2 separate regions of the Homo sapiens genome follow, and region 1 is linked to region 2. The links are contacts of gene promoters, found by promoter capture Hi-C in blood cells and fetal thymus (Javierre and others, 2016). All regions are on one chromosome and are shown on one strand. The core of a region is centred on a gene start or on the middle of the fragment in contact, and the rest is flanking DNA. Distances in the headings are between cores, read along the strand shown.

The links. Contacts are between HindIII fragments. The CHiCAGO score rates a contact against its expected background, and 5 or more counts as called.
Region 1: a fragment that was not itself captured here is called in contact with the fragment with the promoter of TAF7 in region 2 in 1 of 17 cell types (naive CD8 T cells); the score reaches 5.4 in naive CD8 T cells.

What each region holds. Positions count from the first base shown.
Region 1 is chr5:144,193,011-144,197,890 of GRCh38, reverse strand. The region is part of intron 2 of KCTD16 (potassium channel tetramerization domain containing 16); the gene reads right to left. Among named protein-coding and RNA genes, the nearest start is that of KCTD16, 25 kb to the right of the region's middle. The HindIII fragment of the contact is 1,273 bases long and covers 622-1,894 here.
Region 2 is chr5:141,319,373-141,324,905 of GRCh38, reverse strand. It overlaps TAF7 (TATA-box binding protein associated factor 7), which reads left to right and starts at 4,122. Exons shown (of 1, transcript NM_005642.3): 1 at 4,122-5,533. The coding sequence starts at 4,862. RefSeq lists enhancers at 3,594-3,743, 3,754-3,813, 4,394-4,593. The HindIII fragment of the contact is 5,333 bases long and covers 1-5,090 here.

The sequences.
Region 1 (4,880 bases), core at 9-2,508, 2.9 Mb before region 2:
CTGTGCCTGTGGCCAAACAAATTAATAAAATTAACTGACCCAATTGCCAGGCAATTCCACATACATTTTCTATCTTAATTCCTAAAACAATCCTGAAATGTTAGCATTGTGGGGAGAATAAAAGAGCCTCCAAGAGGTTAAGTAACCAGCAGCGGATCACACCAAACCTGTCTGATTCCGAGGTCCTTTTTCACTACACCCAAATTATTTGGGCATATAGTTTCTTTTATTAAATATGCTCACTGTGTACCCAATGGTTTGGCATCACAAAGAACACCAACACAATCCAGCATAGATCACCACTATATCCCCAATCGCAGTTCAGTGCCAGGCTCAGAGTAAGCACTCTATATATATTTGTCAAAGGGTTGTGAGAATGAACAAGCAAATGAATGAATGAAAGAATAAACCACCAATTAGGCCAGTGGTATCCAGAAGTTTCATCTGGATATAACAAGCATGTGATCTAAGAGTGTAGCATATCTAATTTTCTTTACTCCTGAAATGTTGTTTCCAAATGTGAAAAGTGAAATGTTTATGAATAGAGCATCAGAGAACTGACCCTTCATGAATCCAAAAGGATAAGTAATATATATGTTTATGTTCCAGAATTTAAAAGCTTATAGAAATAAGACATTGCTTTTAGGATAAAAGTTTACATCAGAACTATAAAATTCTAGTTTTTATTTTTTAAAAAGTGCTTATATGCTTGAAAAATATGATTTACTGAAAAAGTATTTTGTCAAGGTACCAGACAATTATAATCCAACTATTTTATGCATCAGTTACTCTGCATTCTTTCCAAACATGTGTGTAGGATGGGTTATGGAGTTAGAATGCCTGATAATGATTGACCTACATAGACACACATACCGGGCACAAGATTTAAAGGGCCAAAGTACATAATTCAAATATGAGGTAGGAAACATCACCTTTTTTGCTGTACAACGCAGATTTGCACAGCTGCTGCCAAGGAAATTGCATGTTACCTTTACAGACAATGATCTGAGCCTCAAGCACATCTCACAATTACCCTAGGGGTCTCTCAAAATGACAGGCTGGTACTATTGCAATGTGCAGTTCCAATAGCTGCCAGAGGACATCAGACAATTGTTTGAAATGGAGCCAGTGTTGTATATCTTCCTGATAAATCTGGTTGCCATTCATCAGGAAAAAGAATGCCTATGAACAAATGGAGTGACACAAAAAAAGATTTATGTATCTGATAGAACCTGGATTCAACCTGGTGTCCCTTGAACAATCTCTTGAATTTTTCATATATTTAAATGAGGTCTTGAGAGTAGTTACATACATCTGTGTTGTTGATGTGCCATAATACAGGACATAGAAGCTGCAATTACTCCTGGATAGGACATATAATACAATTATAAATTAAGATTAAAAATTAGATGAAAGGGCTAGGGATGGAGAAATAATAAATGTTTTATTTGCCCCAAAGACAGTAATAAAATACCTTCCTTTTATTGCCATTTGGTCCGAGGTCATTTATACCTATAAGGGTAAAGAAAGAAAAAGTAACTGCCCAATGGAAGTGACTGATGGAGTTTTATTATTGTGAGGCACTGACAATAATAAAAGTGCTTCACAATAGTAAAAACTCGCTTCCCTCCAAAAAAATAAGATCACCTGCAGAGCCACTGGCCAATCAGAGCCGACATAGAGTCCTTCCCTAGAGCCCCACATAGTAATGACAGCTAAGATTGCTGGAGTCCAGCAAAATACGTTTTGAGCTCCTTTAAAATGTTTTGGCCATGTCTCTTATTATCATTCATTTACTCAAATATTTATGTGTATCTATTTGTACAAGGAACTATGTTAGGCTTTGTAGAGAATGTAATAGTGAATCAAACATGAGTGTTACCTTCACTAAGCTTATAATCCAATAGGGGAAAACACTCTGTGTCTGACTTGGAGACAACTGGCACACAGGAGAAAGTGATGACTGCTGTTAAGAGAAGAGGAAAAAGTTCTATGAGAGCAACAGAGCAACCAAAAGCAAAGTCATTTTTTGAAACTCTAAGAAACATCATGCCTAGAACAAAGTGCCCATTAATAAATTATTGATGAACTAAAGAAAGTGCCACTTTGCATTACTATACATTTACTCGGTATGAAATCAGAGAGGCACTCATTTAGAATTCATTTAGAGCTGTTCCAGACAGGGCTGATTCATTAGAGTGCTGATGATCTCAGAAATATTTTATATGTGTATATAAATGTAAGTCCGTTGCAGCACTCTACCGTACAGCTAATCTGTATTTGGTTCTCAGCCAGTGAAGACTAAGAGCCATTTGAGTGGCCCTTCCCTCTCCATTTGTTGACTCCACCAGCTCCCTCTTTCTGTGGTTCCTTGTGTGCCAGTGAACACTGAAGCTCAAGATGGCTGACAAAAGGTGACCAAGCAACGGTGCTGGAGATTCTGCAAAAATCATGAAAGGTGCTGGATGGTAGCAAGCAGGCTGCACTGCAACAACCTCAGATGCCCCCAAGGAGGTGGTCTAAGAAACCCAGATCAGCAGACATTTGTTGCCTGGTAGAAATCCTTTGAGATTTTGAAGGACAACATAAGCCTTGCAGCAACCCAGAAAGATAAGAAAGGTAAATAGAAGAAATCTTGGGCCAAAGGCACATATAGCATCAATGTAGTTAATGTGATAATTTCCAGGAAGAGATTCCCCCATGCTAACAGGGTATGCCTATAGTTTAACAATTGGGGGATGGTGGTAGAGGAGGATTTCAAGCACTATTTCTATTTCAGATACACAGGGAGTCCTGTAATTAAGGATATCCTGAGGGTCTGGGGAAGCTGACGGTGTAAGCAACAGTTCTTTAAGGCAAGTGTGTGACACAAAGGAAATCTAATAAAAGAACAAGTTACTTTTGATCAGCACAAAATGACAACATTGAAGGATTTGTGGTCACCTTTCATTACTGCAAATAAAATTTTCCTTAAGTTCACCTAGTATTCACAAATTCATAGTATTCACAAAAAATACCAAAACACAATTTAAGTACTAAAAATGATTATTTCTTGCACAGAGAAGCAATAGAGCATCATGGTTAAAAGGGTGGGCTTTGGGATCAGAGAGTCCTGGGGTCGAATCCCACCTCCATTGTTTACCAGCTGAAAAAGTTACATACATCTGAGCCACAGTTTTCTCATCTGTACAACAGGGGTAATAATTGTACTTCCCATACAGAGTTTTGTGAGAACTAAATAAATAATGCATGTTAAATGCTTAGTGCACTAACTGGCCCATAGTAAATGCTCAACAAATGTATCATTTGCTATTACAAACACATTGCTTCGTGTCTTTTTAAAAATGAATTCTCTCCTTCCCCAAACTGTTCTAATTATTAGCTCCACAAGAGCTCAGGGTAGAGCCACATCACTAACATTGACCAATCCTTACTCTGGACCCCTTACAGATGTGAAGGGAAGGAAACAGAGCAATCATATAAATCTCCCTTGAGGATGCAGAGCCTCCTACTGAGAGGTGGTTTGGATAAGTCAAAGAGCACCATACGGCAGTGTTGTAATGTTTCCCGCATGGATAACACATTTTCTACTTGACAAGTTATCAGTGTCACCATCTCTGGCCCCATAAGCTCCAGAGCTTGTTCCTCATTTGTTAGATGTCACTTGTCCCAGCATGGTGCTTTATATACAAGGATATCTGAGTGAAAGTCTGCACATTTTTAATGTTCTCTTCTTTCTTCCTAAATATTCCCCCTTGTTGACTAATTCAGTCTCGGTGAACCATCTTCACTGTATGCAAATGACTGTAACACCTAAATGCTTGGCCTTGCTTTCTTCTCAACTTCCATACACCTGCTGGGCATTTTTACAGAGATCTACCAGCACCTTACACTCGAGTCCTAAGCTAAATATCTGTTTTCCACTCTCATCTTTTTCATTTCTCCAAGTTCTCCTTCTGTGTTAAGAGCATCACAGGTTTCTCAGTCCAAGTGAAAATCCATCATCTGATCCCTCCCTTTCCATTGGCACCCAACACTCAATAATTAAGTCTACCCACTTTCTCTACTATACTTCTTTCAGATATCTCTTCTCTTCGCTTCCATTTGTCGTACCTTTGTTCTTTGCCTTTTACCCAAATTTGACTAAGAAATAATTATGGAGCCATGAGCCAGGCACAACACTAAGCTATAAGCTCTATGTGTTGGGGATCCAGAAATGAATAAAGTAGACCAGCTCTTTGCCATCATGGAACTTCCATTATAGGCCAGACACACAGATCATAAACAAATAAACAAATAAATGAGCAAGATCATTTCATATAGTGAAATGAGCTATGAATAAAATAGAATAGGTAATATTTAAAAAATCTTGTTTGGGGCAAGGAGAAGAGGATTGATACTGCAGGCTGAGACTCTGGGGAGGGGAGCCAGCTATGTGAAATGCTGGGAACAGTGTGCTCTAGGCAGGTGGAATGGAAACAGCAAAGGCTCAGCTGTCTGAGGTGAAACTAAGCTCGGCTTGTTCAAGGAACCAAGAAAGCCAGCAAGTTGGATCCCAATGAGCAAGGGTGAGAGTGCAGGTCTGAGAAGTAGGCAGGGACCAAACCACAGATTTCATTCTATGTGTTATGGGAAGTCATTGGGAATTTAAAGTTAGAAGTGACATGTTCTGGTTTGCTTACTTTTTAAAAGGTGACTTTGGCTGATATGGGGATAACAGATTGTCAGGGAAACAAAATTAGTTGTAGGGAGATCAGTGGGGAGAATTTACAGGGATTTAGTGATATATGATGATGTCTCAGACCAGAGTGAAGTAGAATACATGAGGAAAAGCTAGCAAGGATTTTGGGGGTACAGGTGGTGGTATTTCTATATGGACC
Region 2 (5,533 bases), core at 2,873-5,372:
GCTAAGAATGGGAACATGGCCTAAGTTGGTCCAGTTGGATTGAAAGATAGACTGTTTGGGGAGAGTAACTCTCTTGTCACGGACAATGAAGAAAGTTCTCCAGTTATTGCTGCTGGCTGGTATCTTGTGACTACAGCCTTTAGAATTCCACAAGGAGAGGAAAGCAGAGCTGAAACAACAGAAAAAGTATAAATAAGTGCTCATTCTTCAAAATTAGGAAGAAAAAACAATTTGTGCTACACCATGATTGTATCTGGCCTAGAGGCAGTGAAACTTCTAGACCTGCACTGTCCACTAGAGTAACAACCAGCCACACGTGGCCACTGAGCACTTGAAATGCAGCTAGTCTAAACTGAGATGTGCTGTAAGTGTAAAACACACACTAGGTGTTGAAGATTTAGTACAAAACAAGAATGTAAAACGTATTATTAATATCTTTACATTATTGTAAAAATATGTTGCAATTATATCTTAGATATATTGGATTAAAATTATTGAAATTTCACTTGTTTCTTTTTGCTATTTGAATGTGGCTACTAGATAATCTAAAATCACATCTGTGGCTGACCATCTGTGGCCCACATCATATTTCTATAGGACAAAGCTGTGCTAGACTACCTGTATTTTGGGATCATAGATTTTCTTACTGTTTAAACCAGCATAAATTAGATTTTAATGTTTTCCTATAGAAAACATCCTACTAGATAAAAGAACTGCTAAATATTTTTAGTTAACCTTTTTATCTTTAAAATATATGGTGATATAGCAATATGTAAGCTGGCTTTTCTGTGGTATTTGCTATTTCCTCACCCCTATAATTTTCTACCTCCTAAATATAAGCAGGATTTCTCCCATCACCCATAATTTAACCTCCAAAGTATAAGCAGCCCTTTAAGGAACTAAAAAGTGTATTAAAGGGCAGCTTATATTTTGGAGCCCTTTAAAGAACTAGAAAGTGTATTAAAGGGAATTTTCAAACATACACGATTATTAGTAACCTGATTGCCACACTCCTTAATCACAGACAGGAAGCCTTTGGAGGACTTGTTACCACACTGGGGAATTTATTGCTCTCCCCAAATCTTTTGTTCACTGGTATCACAGATATTCCATGGAACAACCACAGGAGTGTAATTCATCAATTCAGAGTTTTTCTGAATGTCTAATGGAACTTTTTTTTAAAAAAAAACTGGGGATTTATCAGTAGACATTAAGATAATGTGATGTGGCAGAGGCCTTAGGCCTTAGTGATAGGCAGAGGACTGCCACATCACATTATCTTTTTTTTTTTTTTTCTTTTTGAGATGGAATTTTGCTCCAGTGTTGCCCAGGCTGGAGTGCAATGGTGCAATCTTGGCTCACTGCAACCTTCGCTTCCCGGGTTCAAGCAATTCTCCTCCCTCAGTCTCCCGAGTAGCTGGGATTACAGGTGCCCGCCGCCAAGCCTGGCTAATTTGTTTTTGTTTTTGTTTTTGTTTTATTTTTGAGAAGGAGTCCCCTCTATTGCCCAGGCTGGAGTGCAGTGGCGCGATCTCGGCTCACTGCAAACTCTGCCTCCTGGGTTCACGCCATTCTCCTGCCTCAGCCTCCCGAGCAGCTGGGACTACAGGTGCCTGCCACCGCACTCGGCTAATTTTTTGTATTTTTAGTAGAGACGGGATTTCACCGTGTTAGCCAGGATGGTCTCAATCTCCTGACCTCGTGATCCACCCGCCTCGGCCTCCCAAAGTGCTGGGATTACAGGCGTAAGCTACGGCGCCTGGCCCTTTTTTTGTATTTTTAGTAGAAATGGGGTTTCACCATGTTGGCCAGGCTGGTCTCGAACTCCTGACCTCAGATGATCCATCCGCCTTGGCCTCCCAAAGTGCTGGTATTACAGGCATGAGCCACTGCACCCAGCAGATTATCTTAATGTCTACTGATAAATCCAATTTAAAAAAATATTTAGGGTCAATATAATTTCCTCCCCTAAAACAGCATATAGAAAATGTGTTAAACTCAAAAGCAGAAAATGTATTTCAGGACTGAAGGAGCTAGATACATTAAGAAAACCTCAGTTAATCCTTTTAACTATGTCTGGCAATATTCCATGTAAAGAAAGGTTTAGAAACTAAAATACACAGTAATTTTGGAAAATGAAAAATTGCATACAATTTATCTCAAGTTACCTTCTATGATAAGAATATTTGAGCATCATAAAACTCATAGGGAAGATGCTGAGTAATATTTGGATTATTTTCATGTATAATGACCTCACATTGTATATGGTTAAACAAAACACAGCCAGGCGAGGTGGCTCAAGCCTGTAACAGAAAAAACTTCATCTTTGAAAAAGAGGAAATAGATCATTCTGGAAATTACAAGTAAGTCAGCTAACATTCTTCAACACATTATAAGCAAAGAGAAATAATTTACCGTTATCTGGAAGGGCATACTTTCTCTTTTAAAATTAACATTAAAAACCAAACTAACGTCAGGTCATTTTAATTTCCTCCCACAACAGTATCTCATTCTAGCTAAACCACATTCACACACACTATTAGTAAACCTCCCCACCTCATAACAATTAGAATTGTCCTTGACTAGAAAGGAAATGTATGTAAAGTGGCTCTATCTCATTTTAAAATGACAAAGAATGTATTTTCTCTCAGAAATCACTACAGGATTTGAGACTATGATCTTTCTAGACAGATAAGTTTTTTCATTCAATTAGCAAATATTTTTTGTGTATCTCCCACATTCTGGTACTAGGCACTGGGACACAATGACCAGGATAGAAGAAGATCACTATCATGGAGCTTTCAATCATACAAGAATAAAGTGAATTTTGGAAATGTTAATTACATCTTAAGAGAATTCTCTTAAATTTAGGGGCAATTGTTAATATTTTAGAGGATAGAAATGAAATATTAATGGCCTTGATGCTCTCCCAGATATTTTAAAAATAAATGGAAATAAATAGAAATAAGTACCAACTGTTACCCAGTTATGTTAAAATACTAAAAATATGTGTTGATGAATACCTGACTATTGATAGAAAAGACAAGCAGAAAACAGCAAAATAGTAGAGGTGGAGTTAAAAAAAATGTCAAAGTAATTTAAAATTACTTGTACATGAGAGACAGGAAACAATACTTCAATTATATCTACTTTAACCAGATGCTCAGTCTATCAGACAATTCTGTCCAAAAGAACACTTCCTTCTCTGTTTACATTTACATCTAAATCAAGCACATAAAAAGGAATCACCCTTGTTTCCCCAGAAGTATTATAGAACACAAGTAAAACCAGAGGCACAATTCCCCTACAGGGAATTATATTTAAAAATACAGACTTTGGGCCATGCGCGCTGGCTCACACCTATAATCCTAGTACTTTGGGAGGCCAAGACAGGCAGATCACCTCAGGTCAGGAGTTCGAGACCAGCCTGGCCAACATGGTGAAACCCCTTCTCTACTAAAAATACAAAACTTAGGTGGGGTAGTGGAACGTGCCTGTAATCCCAACTACTTAAGAGGCTGAAGCAGGAGAATCGCTTGAACCCCAGAGGTGGAGGTTGCAGTCAGCCAATATTGTGCCACTGCACTCTAGCCTGGGTGACAGCCTGAGACTCCATCTCCAAAACAAACAAACAAACATATATATAGAGAGAGACTTATATAGTAAGCTGCATGTCCTCCTCACTCCATTGATTTGGGTACTTTGAAATCCATTGTATAGTAGCTACACATTCTTGTATTGGCACCAGATAGGCTAGACTCTAGGGAACATCCGAGATGTTTCCAGAAGCAAAGACGCTTACTGCAAGGCGTCCCCCATCTCCCGGAATCACCCGGAAGTCTAGAAGCCATCCGGCCCCACAGCGATCCCGTAAAAGTGCTGGCTTAGCGGGGGACGAATCTGTGTCTTTCTTGGAACTTCCAAGCTCTAAATAGTTTGAAACCAACAGCTCTTCCGAAACACTGTCATTTCCATCCCGGAAAAACAAGTTCTCGCGAAAAGATGAGTTTCACGCTGGGCAGCGTAATTGCGCTATTGCGCCTGCGCTAGCTGGGGCTCCGCCCTTCCGCCCGGAGGGGCTGTCACTCACAGCCGCCTCCCGCCCCGCGTCGCGACGTAGCACTTCCGTTTTTGCTGGGTAGGCGACCCGGACGGAGGGCCGGCGAGGTGCGGGGTCTGGTGATGCGAGCTGCGCCTCTCGGCAAGATTTCGCGCTGCCCATCCCGGGCCCTTTCATCAGTAATCGGTAGTGGATCACTCTGCCAAGCGGCAGGAAGAATTAAGGAAACGACAAGGAGACGCTCGGCTCTCTCCCGCTTGGCTCCTTGCGGCCTCCTCTTCCCTTCGCTCCGGCCCGGTGAAACTGAACTTATAATCGTCACTGGATTGTAAGTACCCGAGGCGAAGAGAGCTCGCTGAGCCCTGATTTTTTGAGTGTCTTTGTTCCGGGAGAGTTTGTGAGTTGAAAGTATCTCTGCTGGGCTTTCTGGGCCGAAAACCGTTCCGGGGGAGCCGCCATTTGCTTTCCTGTTCCCTAGCTAGCTAGCTAGCTCTCTCCGCGTTGTCCGGCAGCGGCACCTAGAGGTTGGGACTTGGCATTGCATCTGATTTAATGAACTTAAGTCTGTGAATAAGCCTTTGTGTTAACGACTGGTATTCGGTCACAGCATATTTAGAGAAAAGACTTGGAGCTTAAATAAAAACTAAGGCAAAATAGACGCTTAGCTGCTGATCTACAGAGAACTTCTTGTAATTAAAAGATTTCAATTCATAGCAAACTGGTGTTTTAAACTATTGCAGTAGCTGGAACTTTTTAGTGTAACCAGCATTTATTGGAGAAGTGAATCACAAGGAAATAAAGATGAGTAAAAGCAAAGATGATGCTCCTCACGAACTGGAGAGCCAGTTTATCTTACGTCTGCCTCCAGAATATGCCTCTACTGTGAGAAGGGCAGTACAGTCTGGTCATGTCAACCTCAAGGACAGACTGACAATTGAGTTACATCCTGATGGGCGTCATGGAATCGTCAGAGTGGACCGTGTTCCATTGGCCTCAAAATTAGTAGACCTGCCCTGTGTTATGGAAAGCTTGAAAACCATTGATAAAAAAACTTTTTACAAGACAGCTGATATCTGTCAGATGCTTGTATCCACAGTTGATGGTGATCTCTATCCTCCTGTGGAGGAGCCAGTTGCTAGCACTGATCCTAAAGCAAGCAAGAAAAAGGATAAGGACAAAGAGAAAAAGTTTATCTGGAACCACGGAATTACTCTGCCTCTAAAGAATGTCAGGAAGAGAAGGTTCCGGAAGACAGCAAAGAAGAAATATATTGAATCTCCAGATGTTGAAAAAGAAGTGAAACGATTGCTGAGTACAGATGCTGAAGCTGTTAGTACTCGGTGGGAAATAATTGCCGAAGATGAAACAAAGGAGGCAGAAAATCAAGGCCTGGATATCTCTTCTCCAGGAATGTCTGGTCACAGGCAGGGCCATGACTCATTAGAACATGATGAGCTTCGGGAGATATTCAAT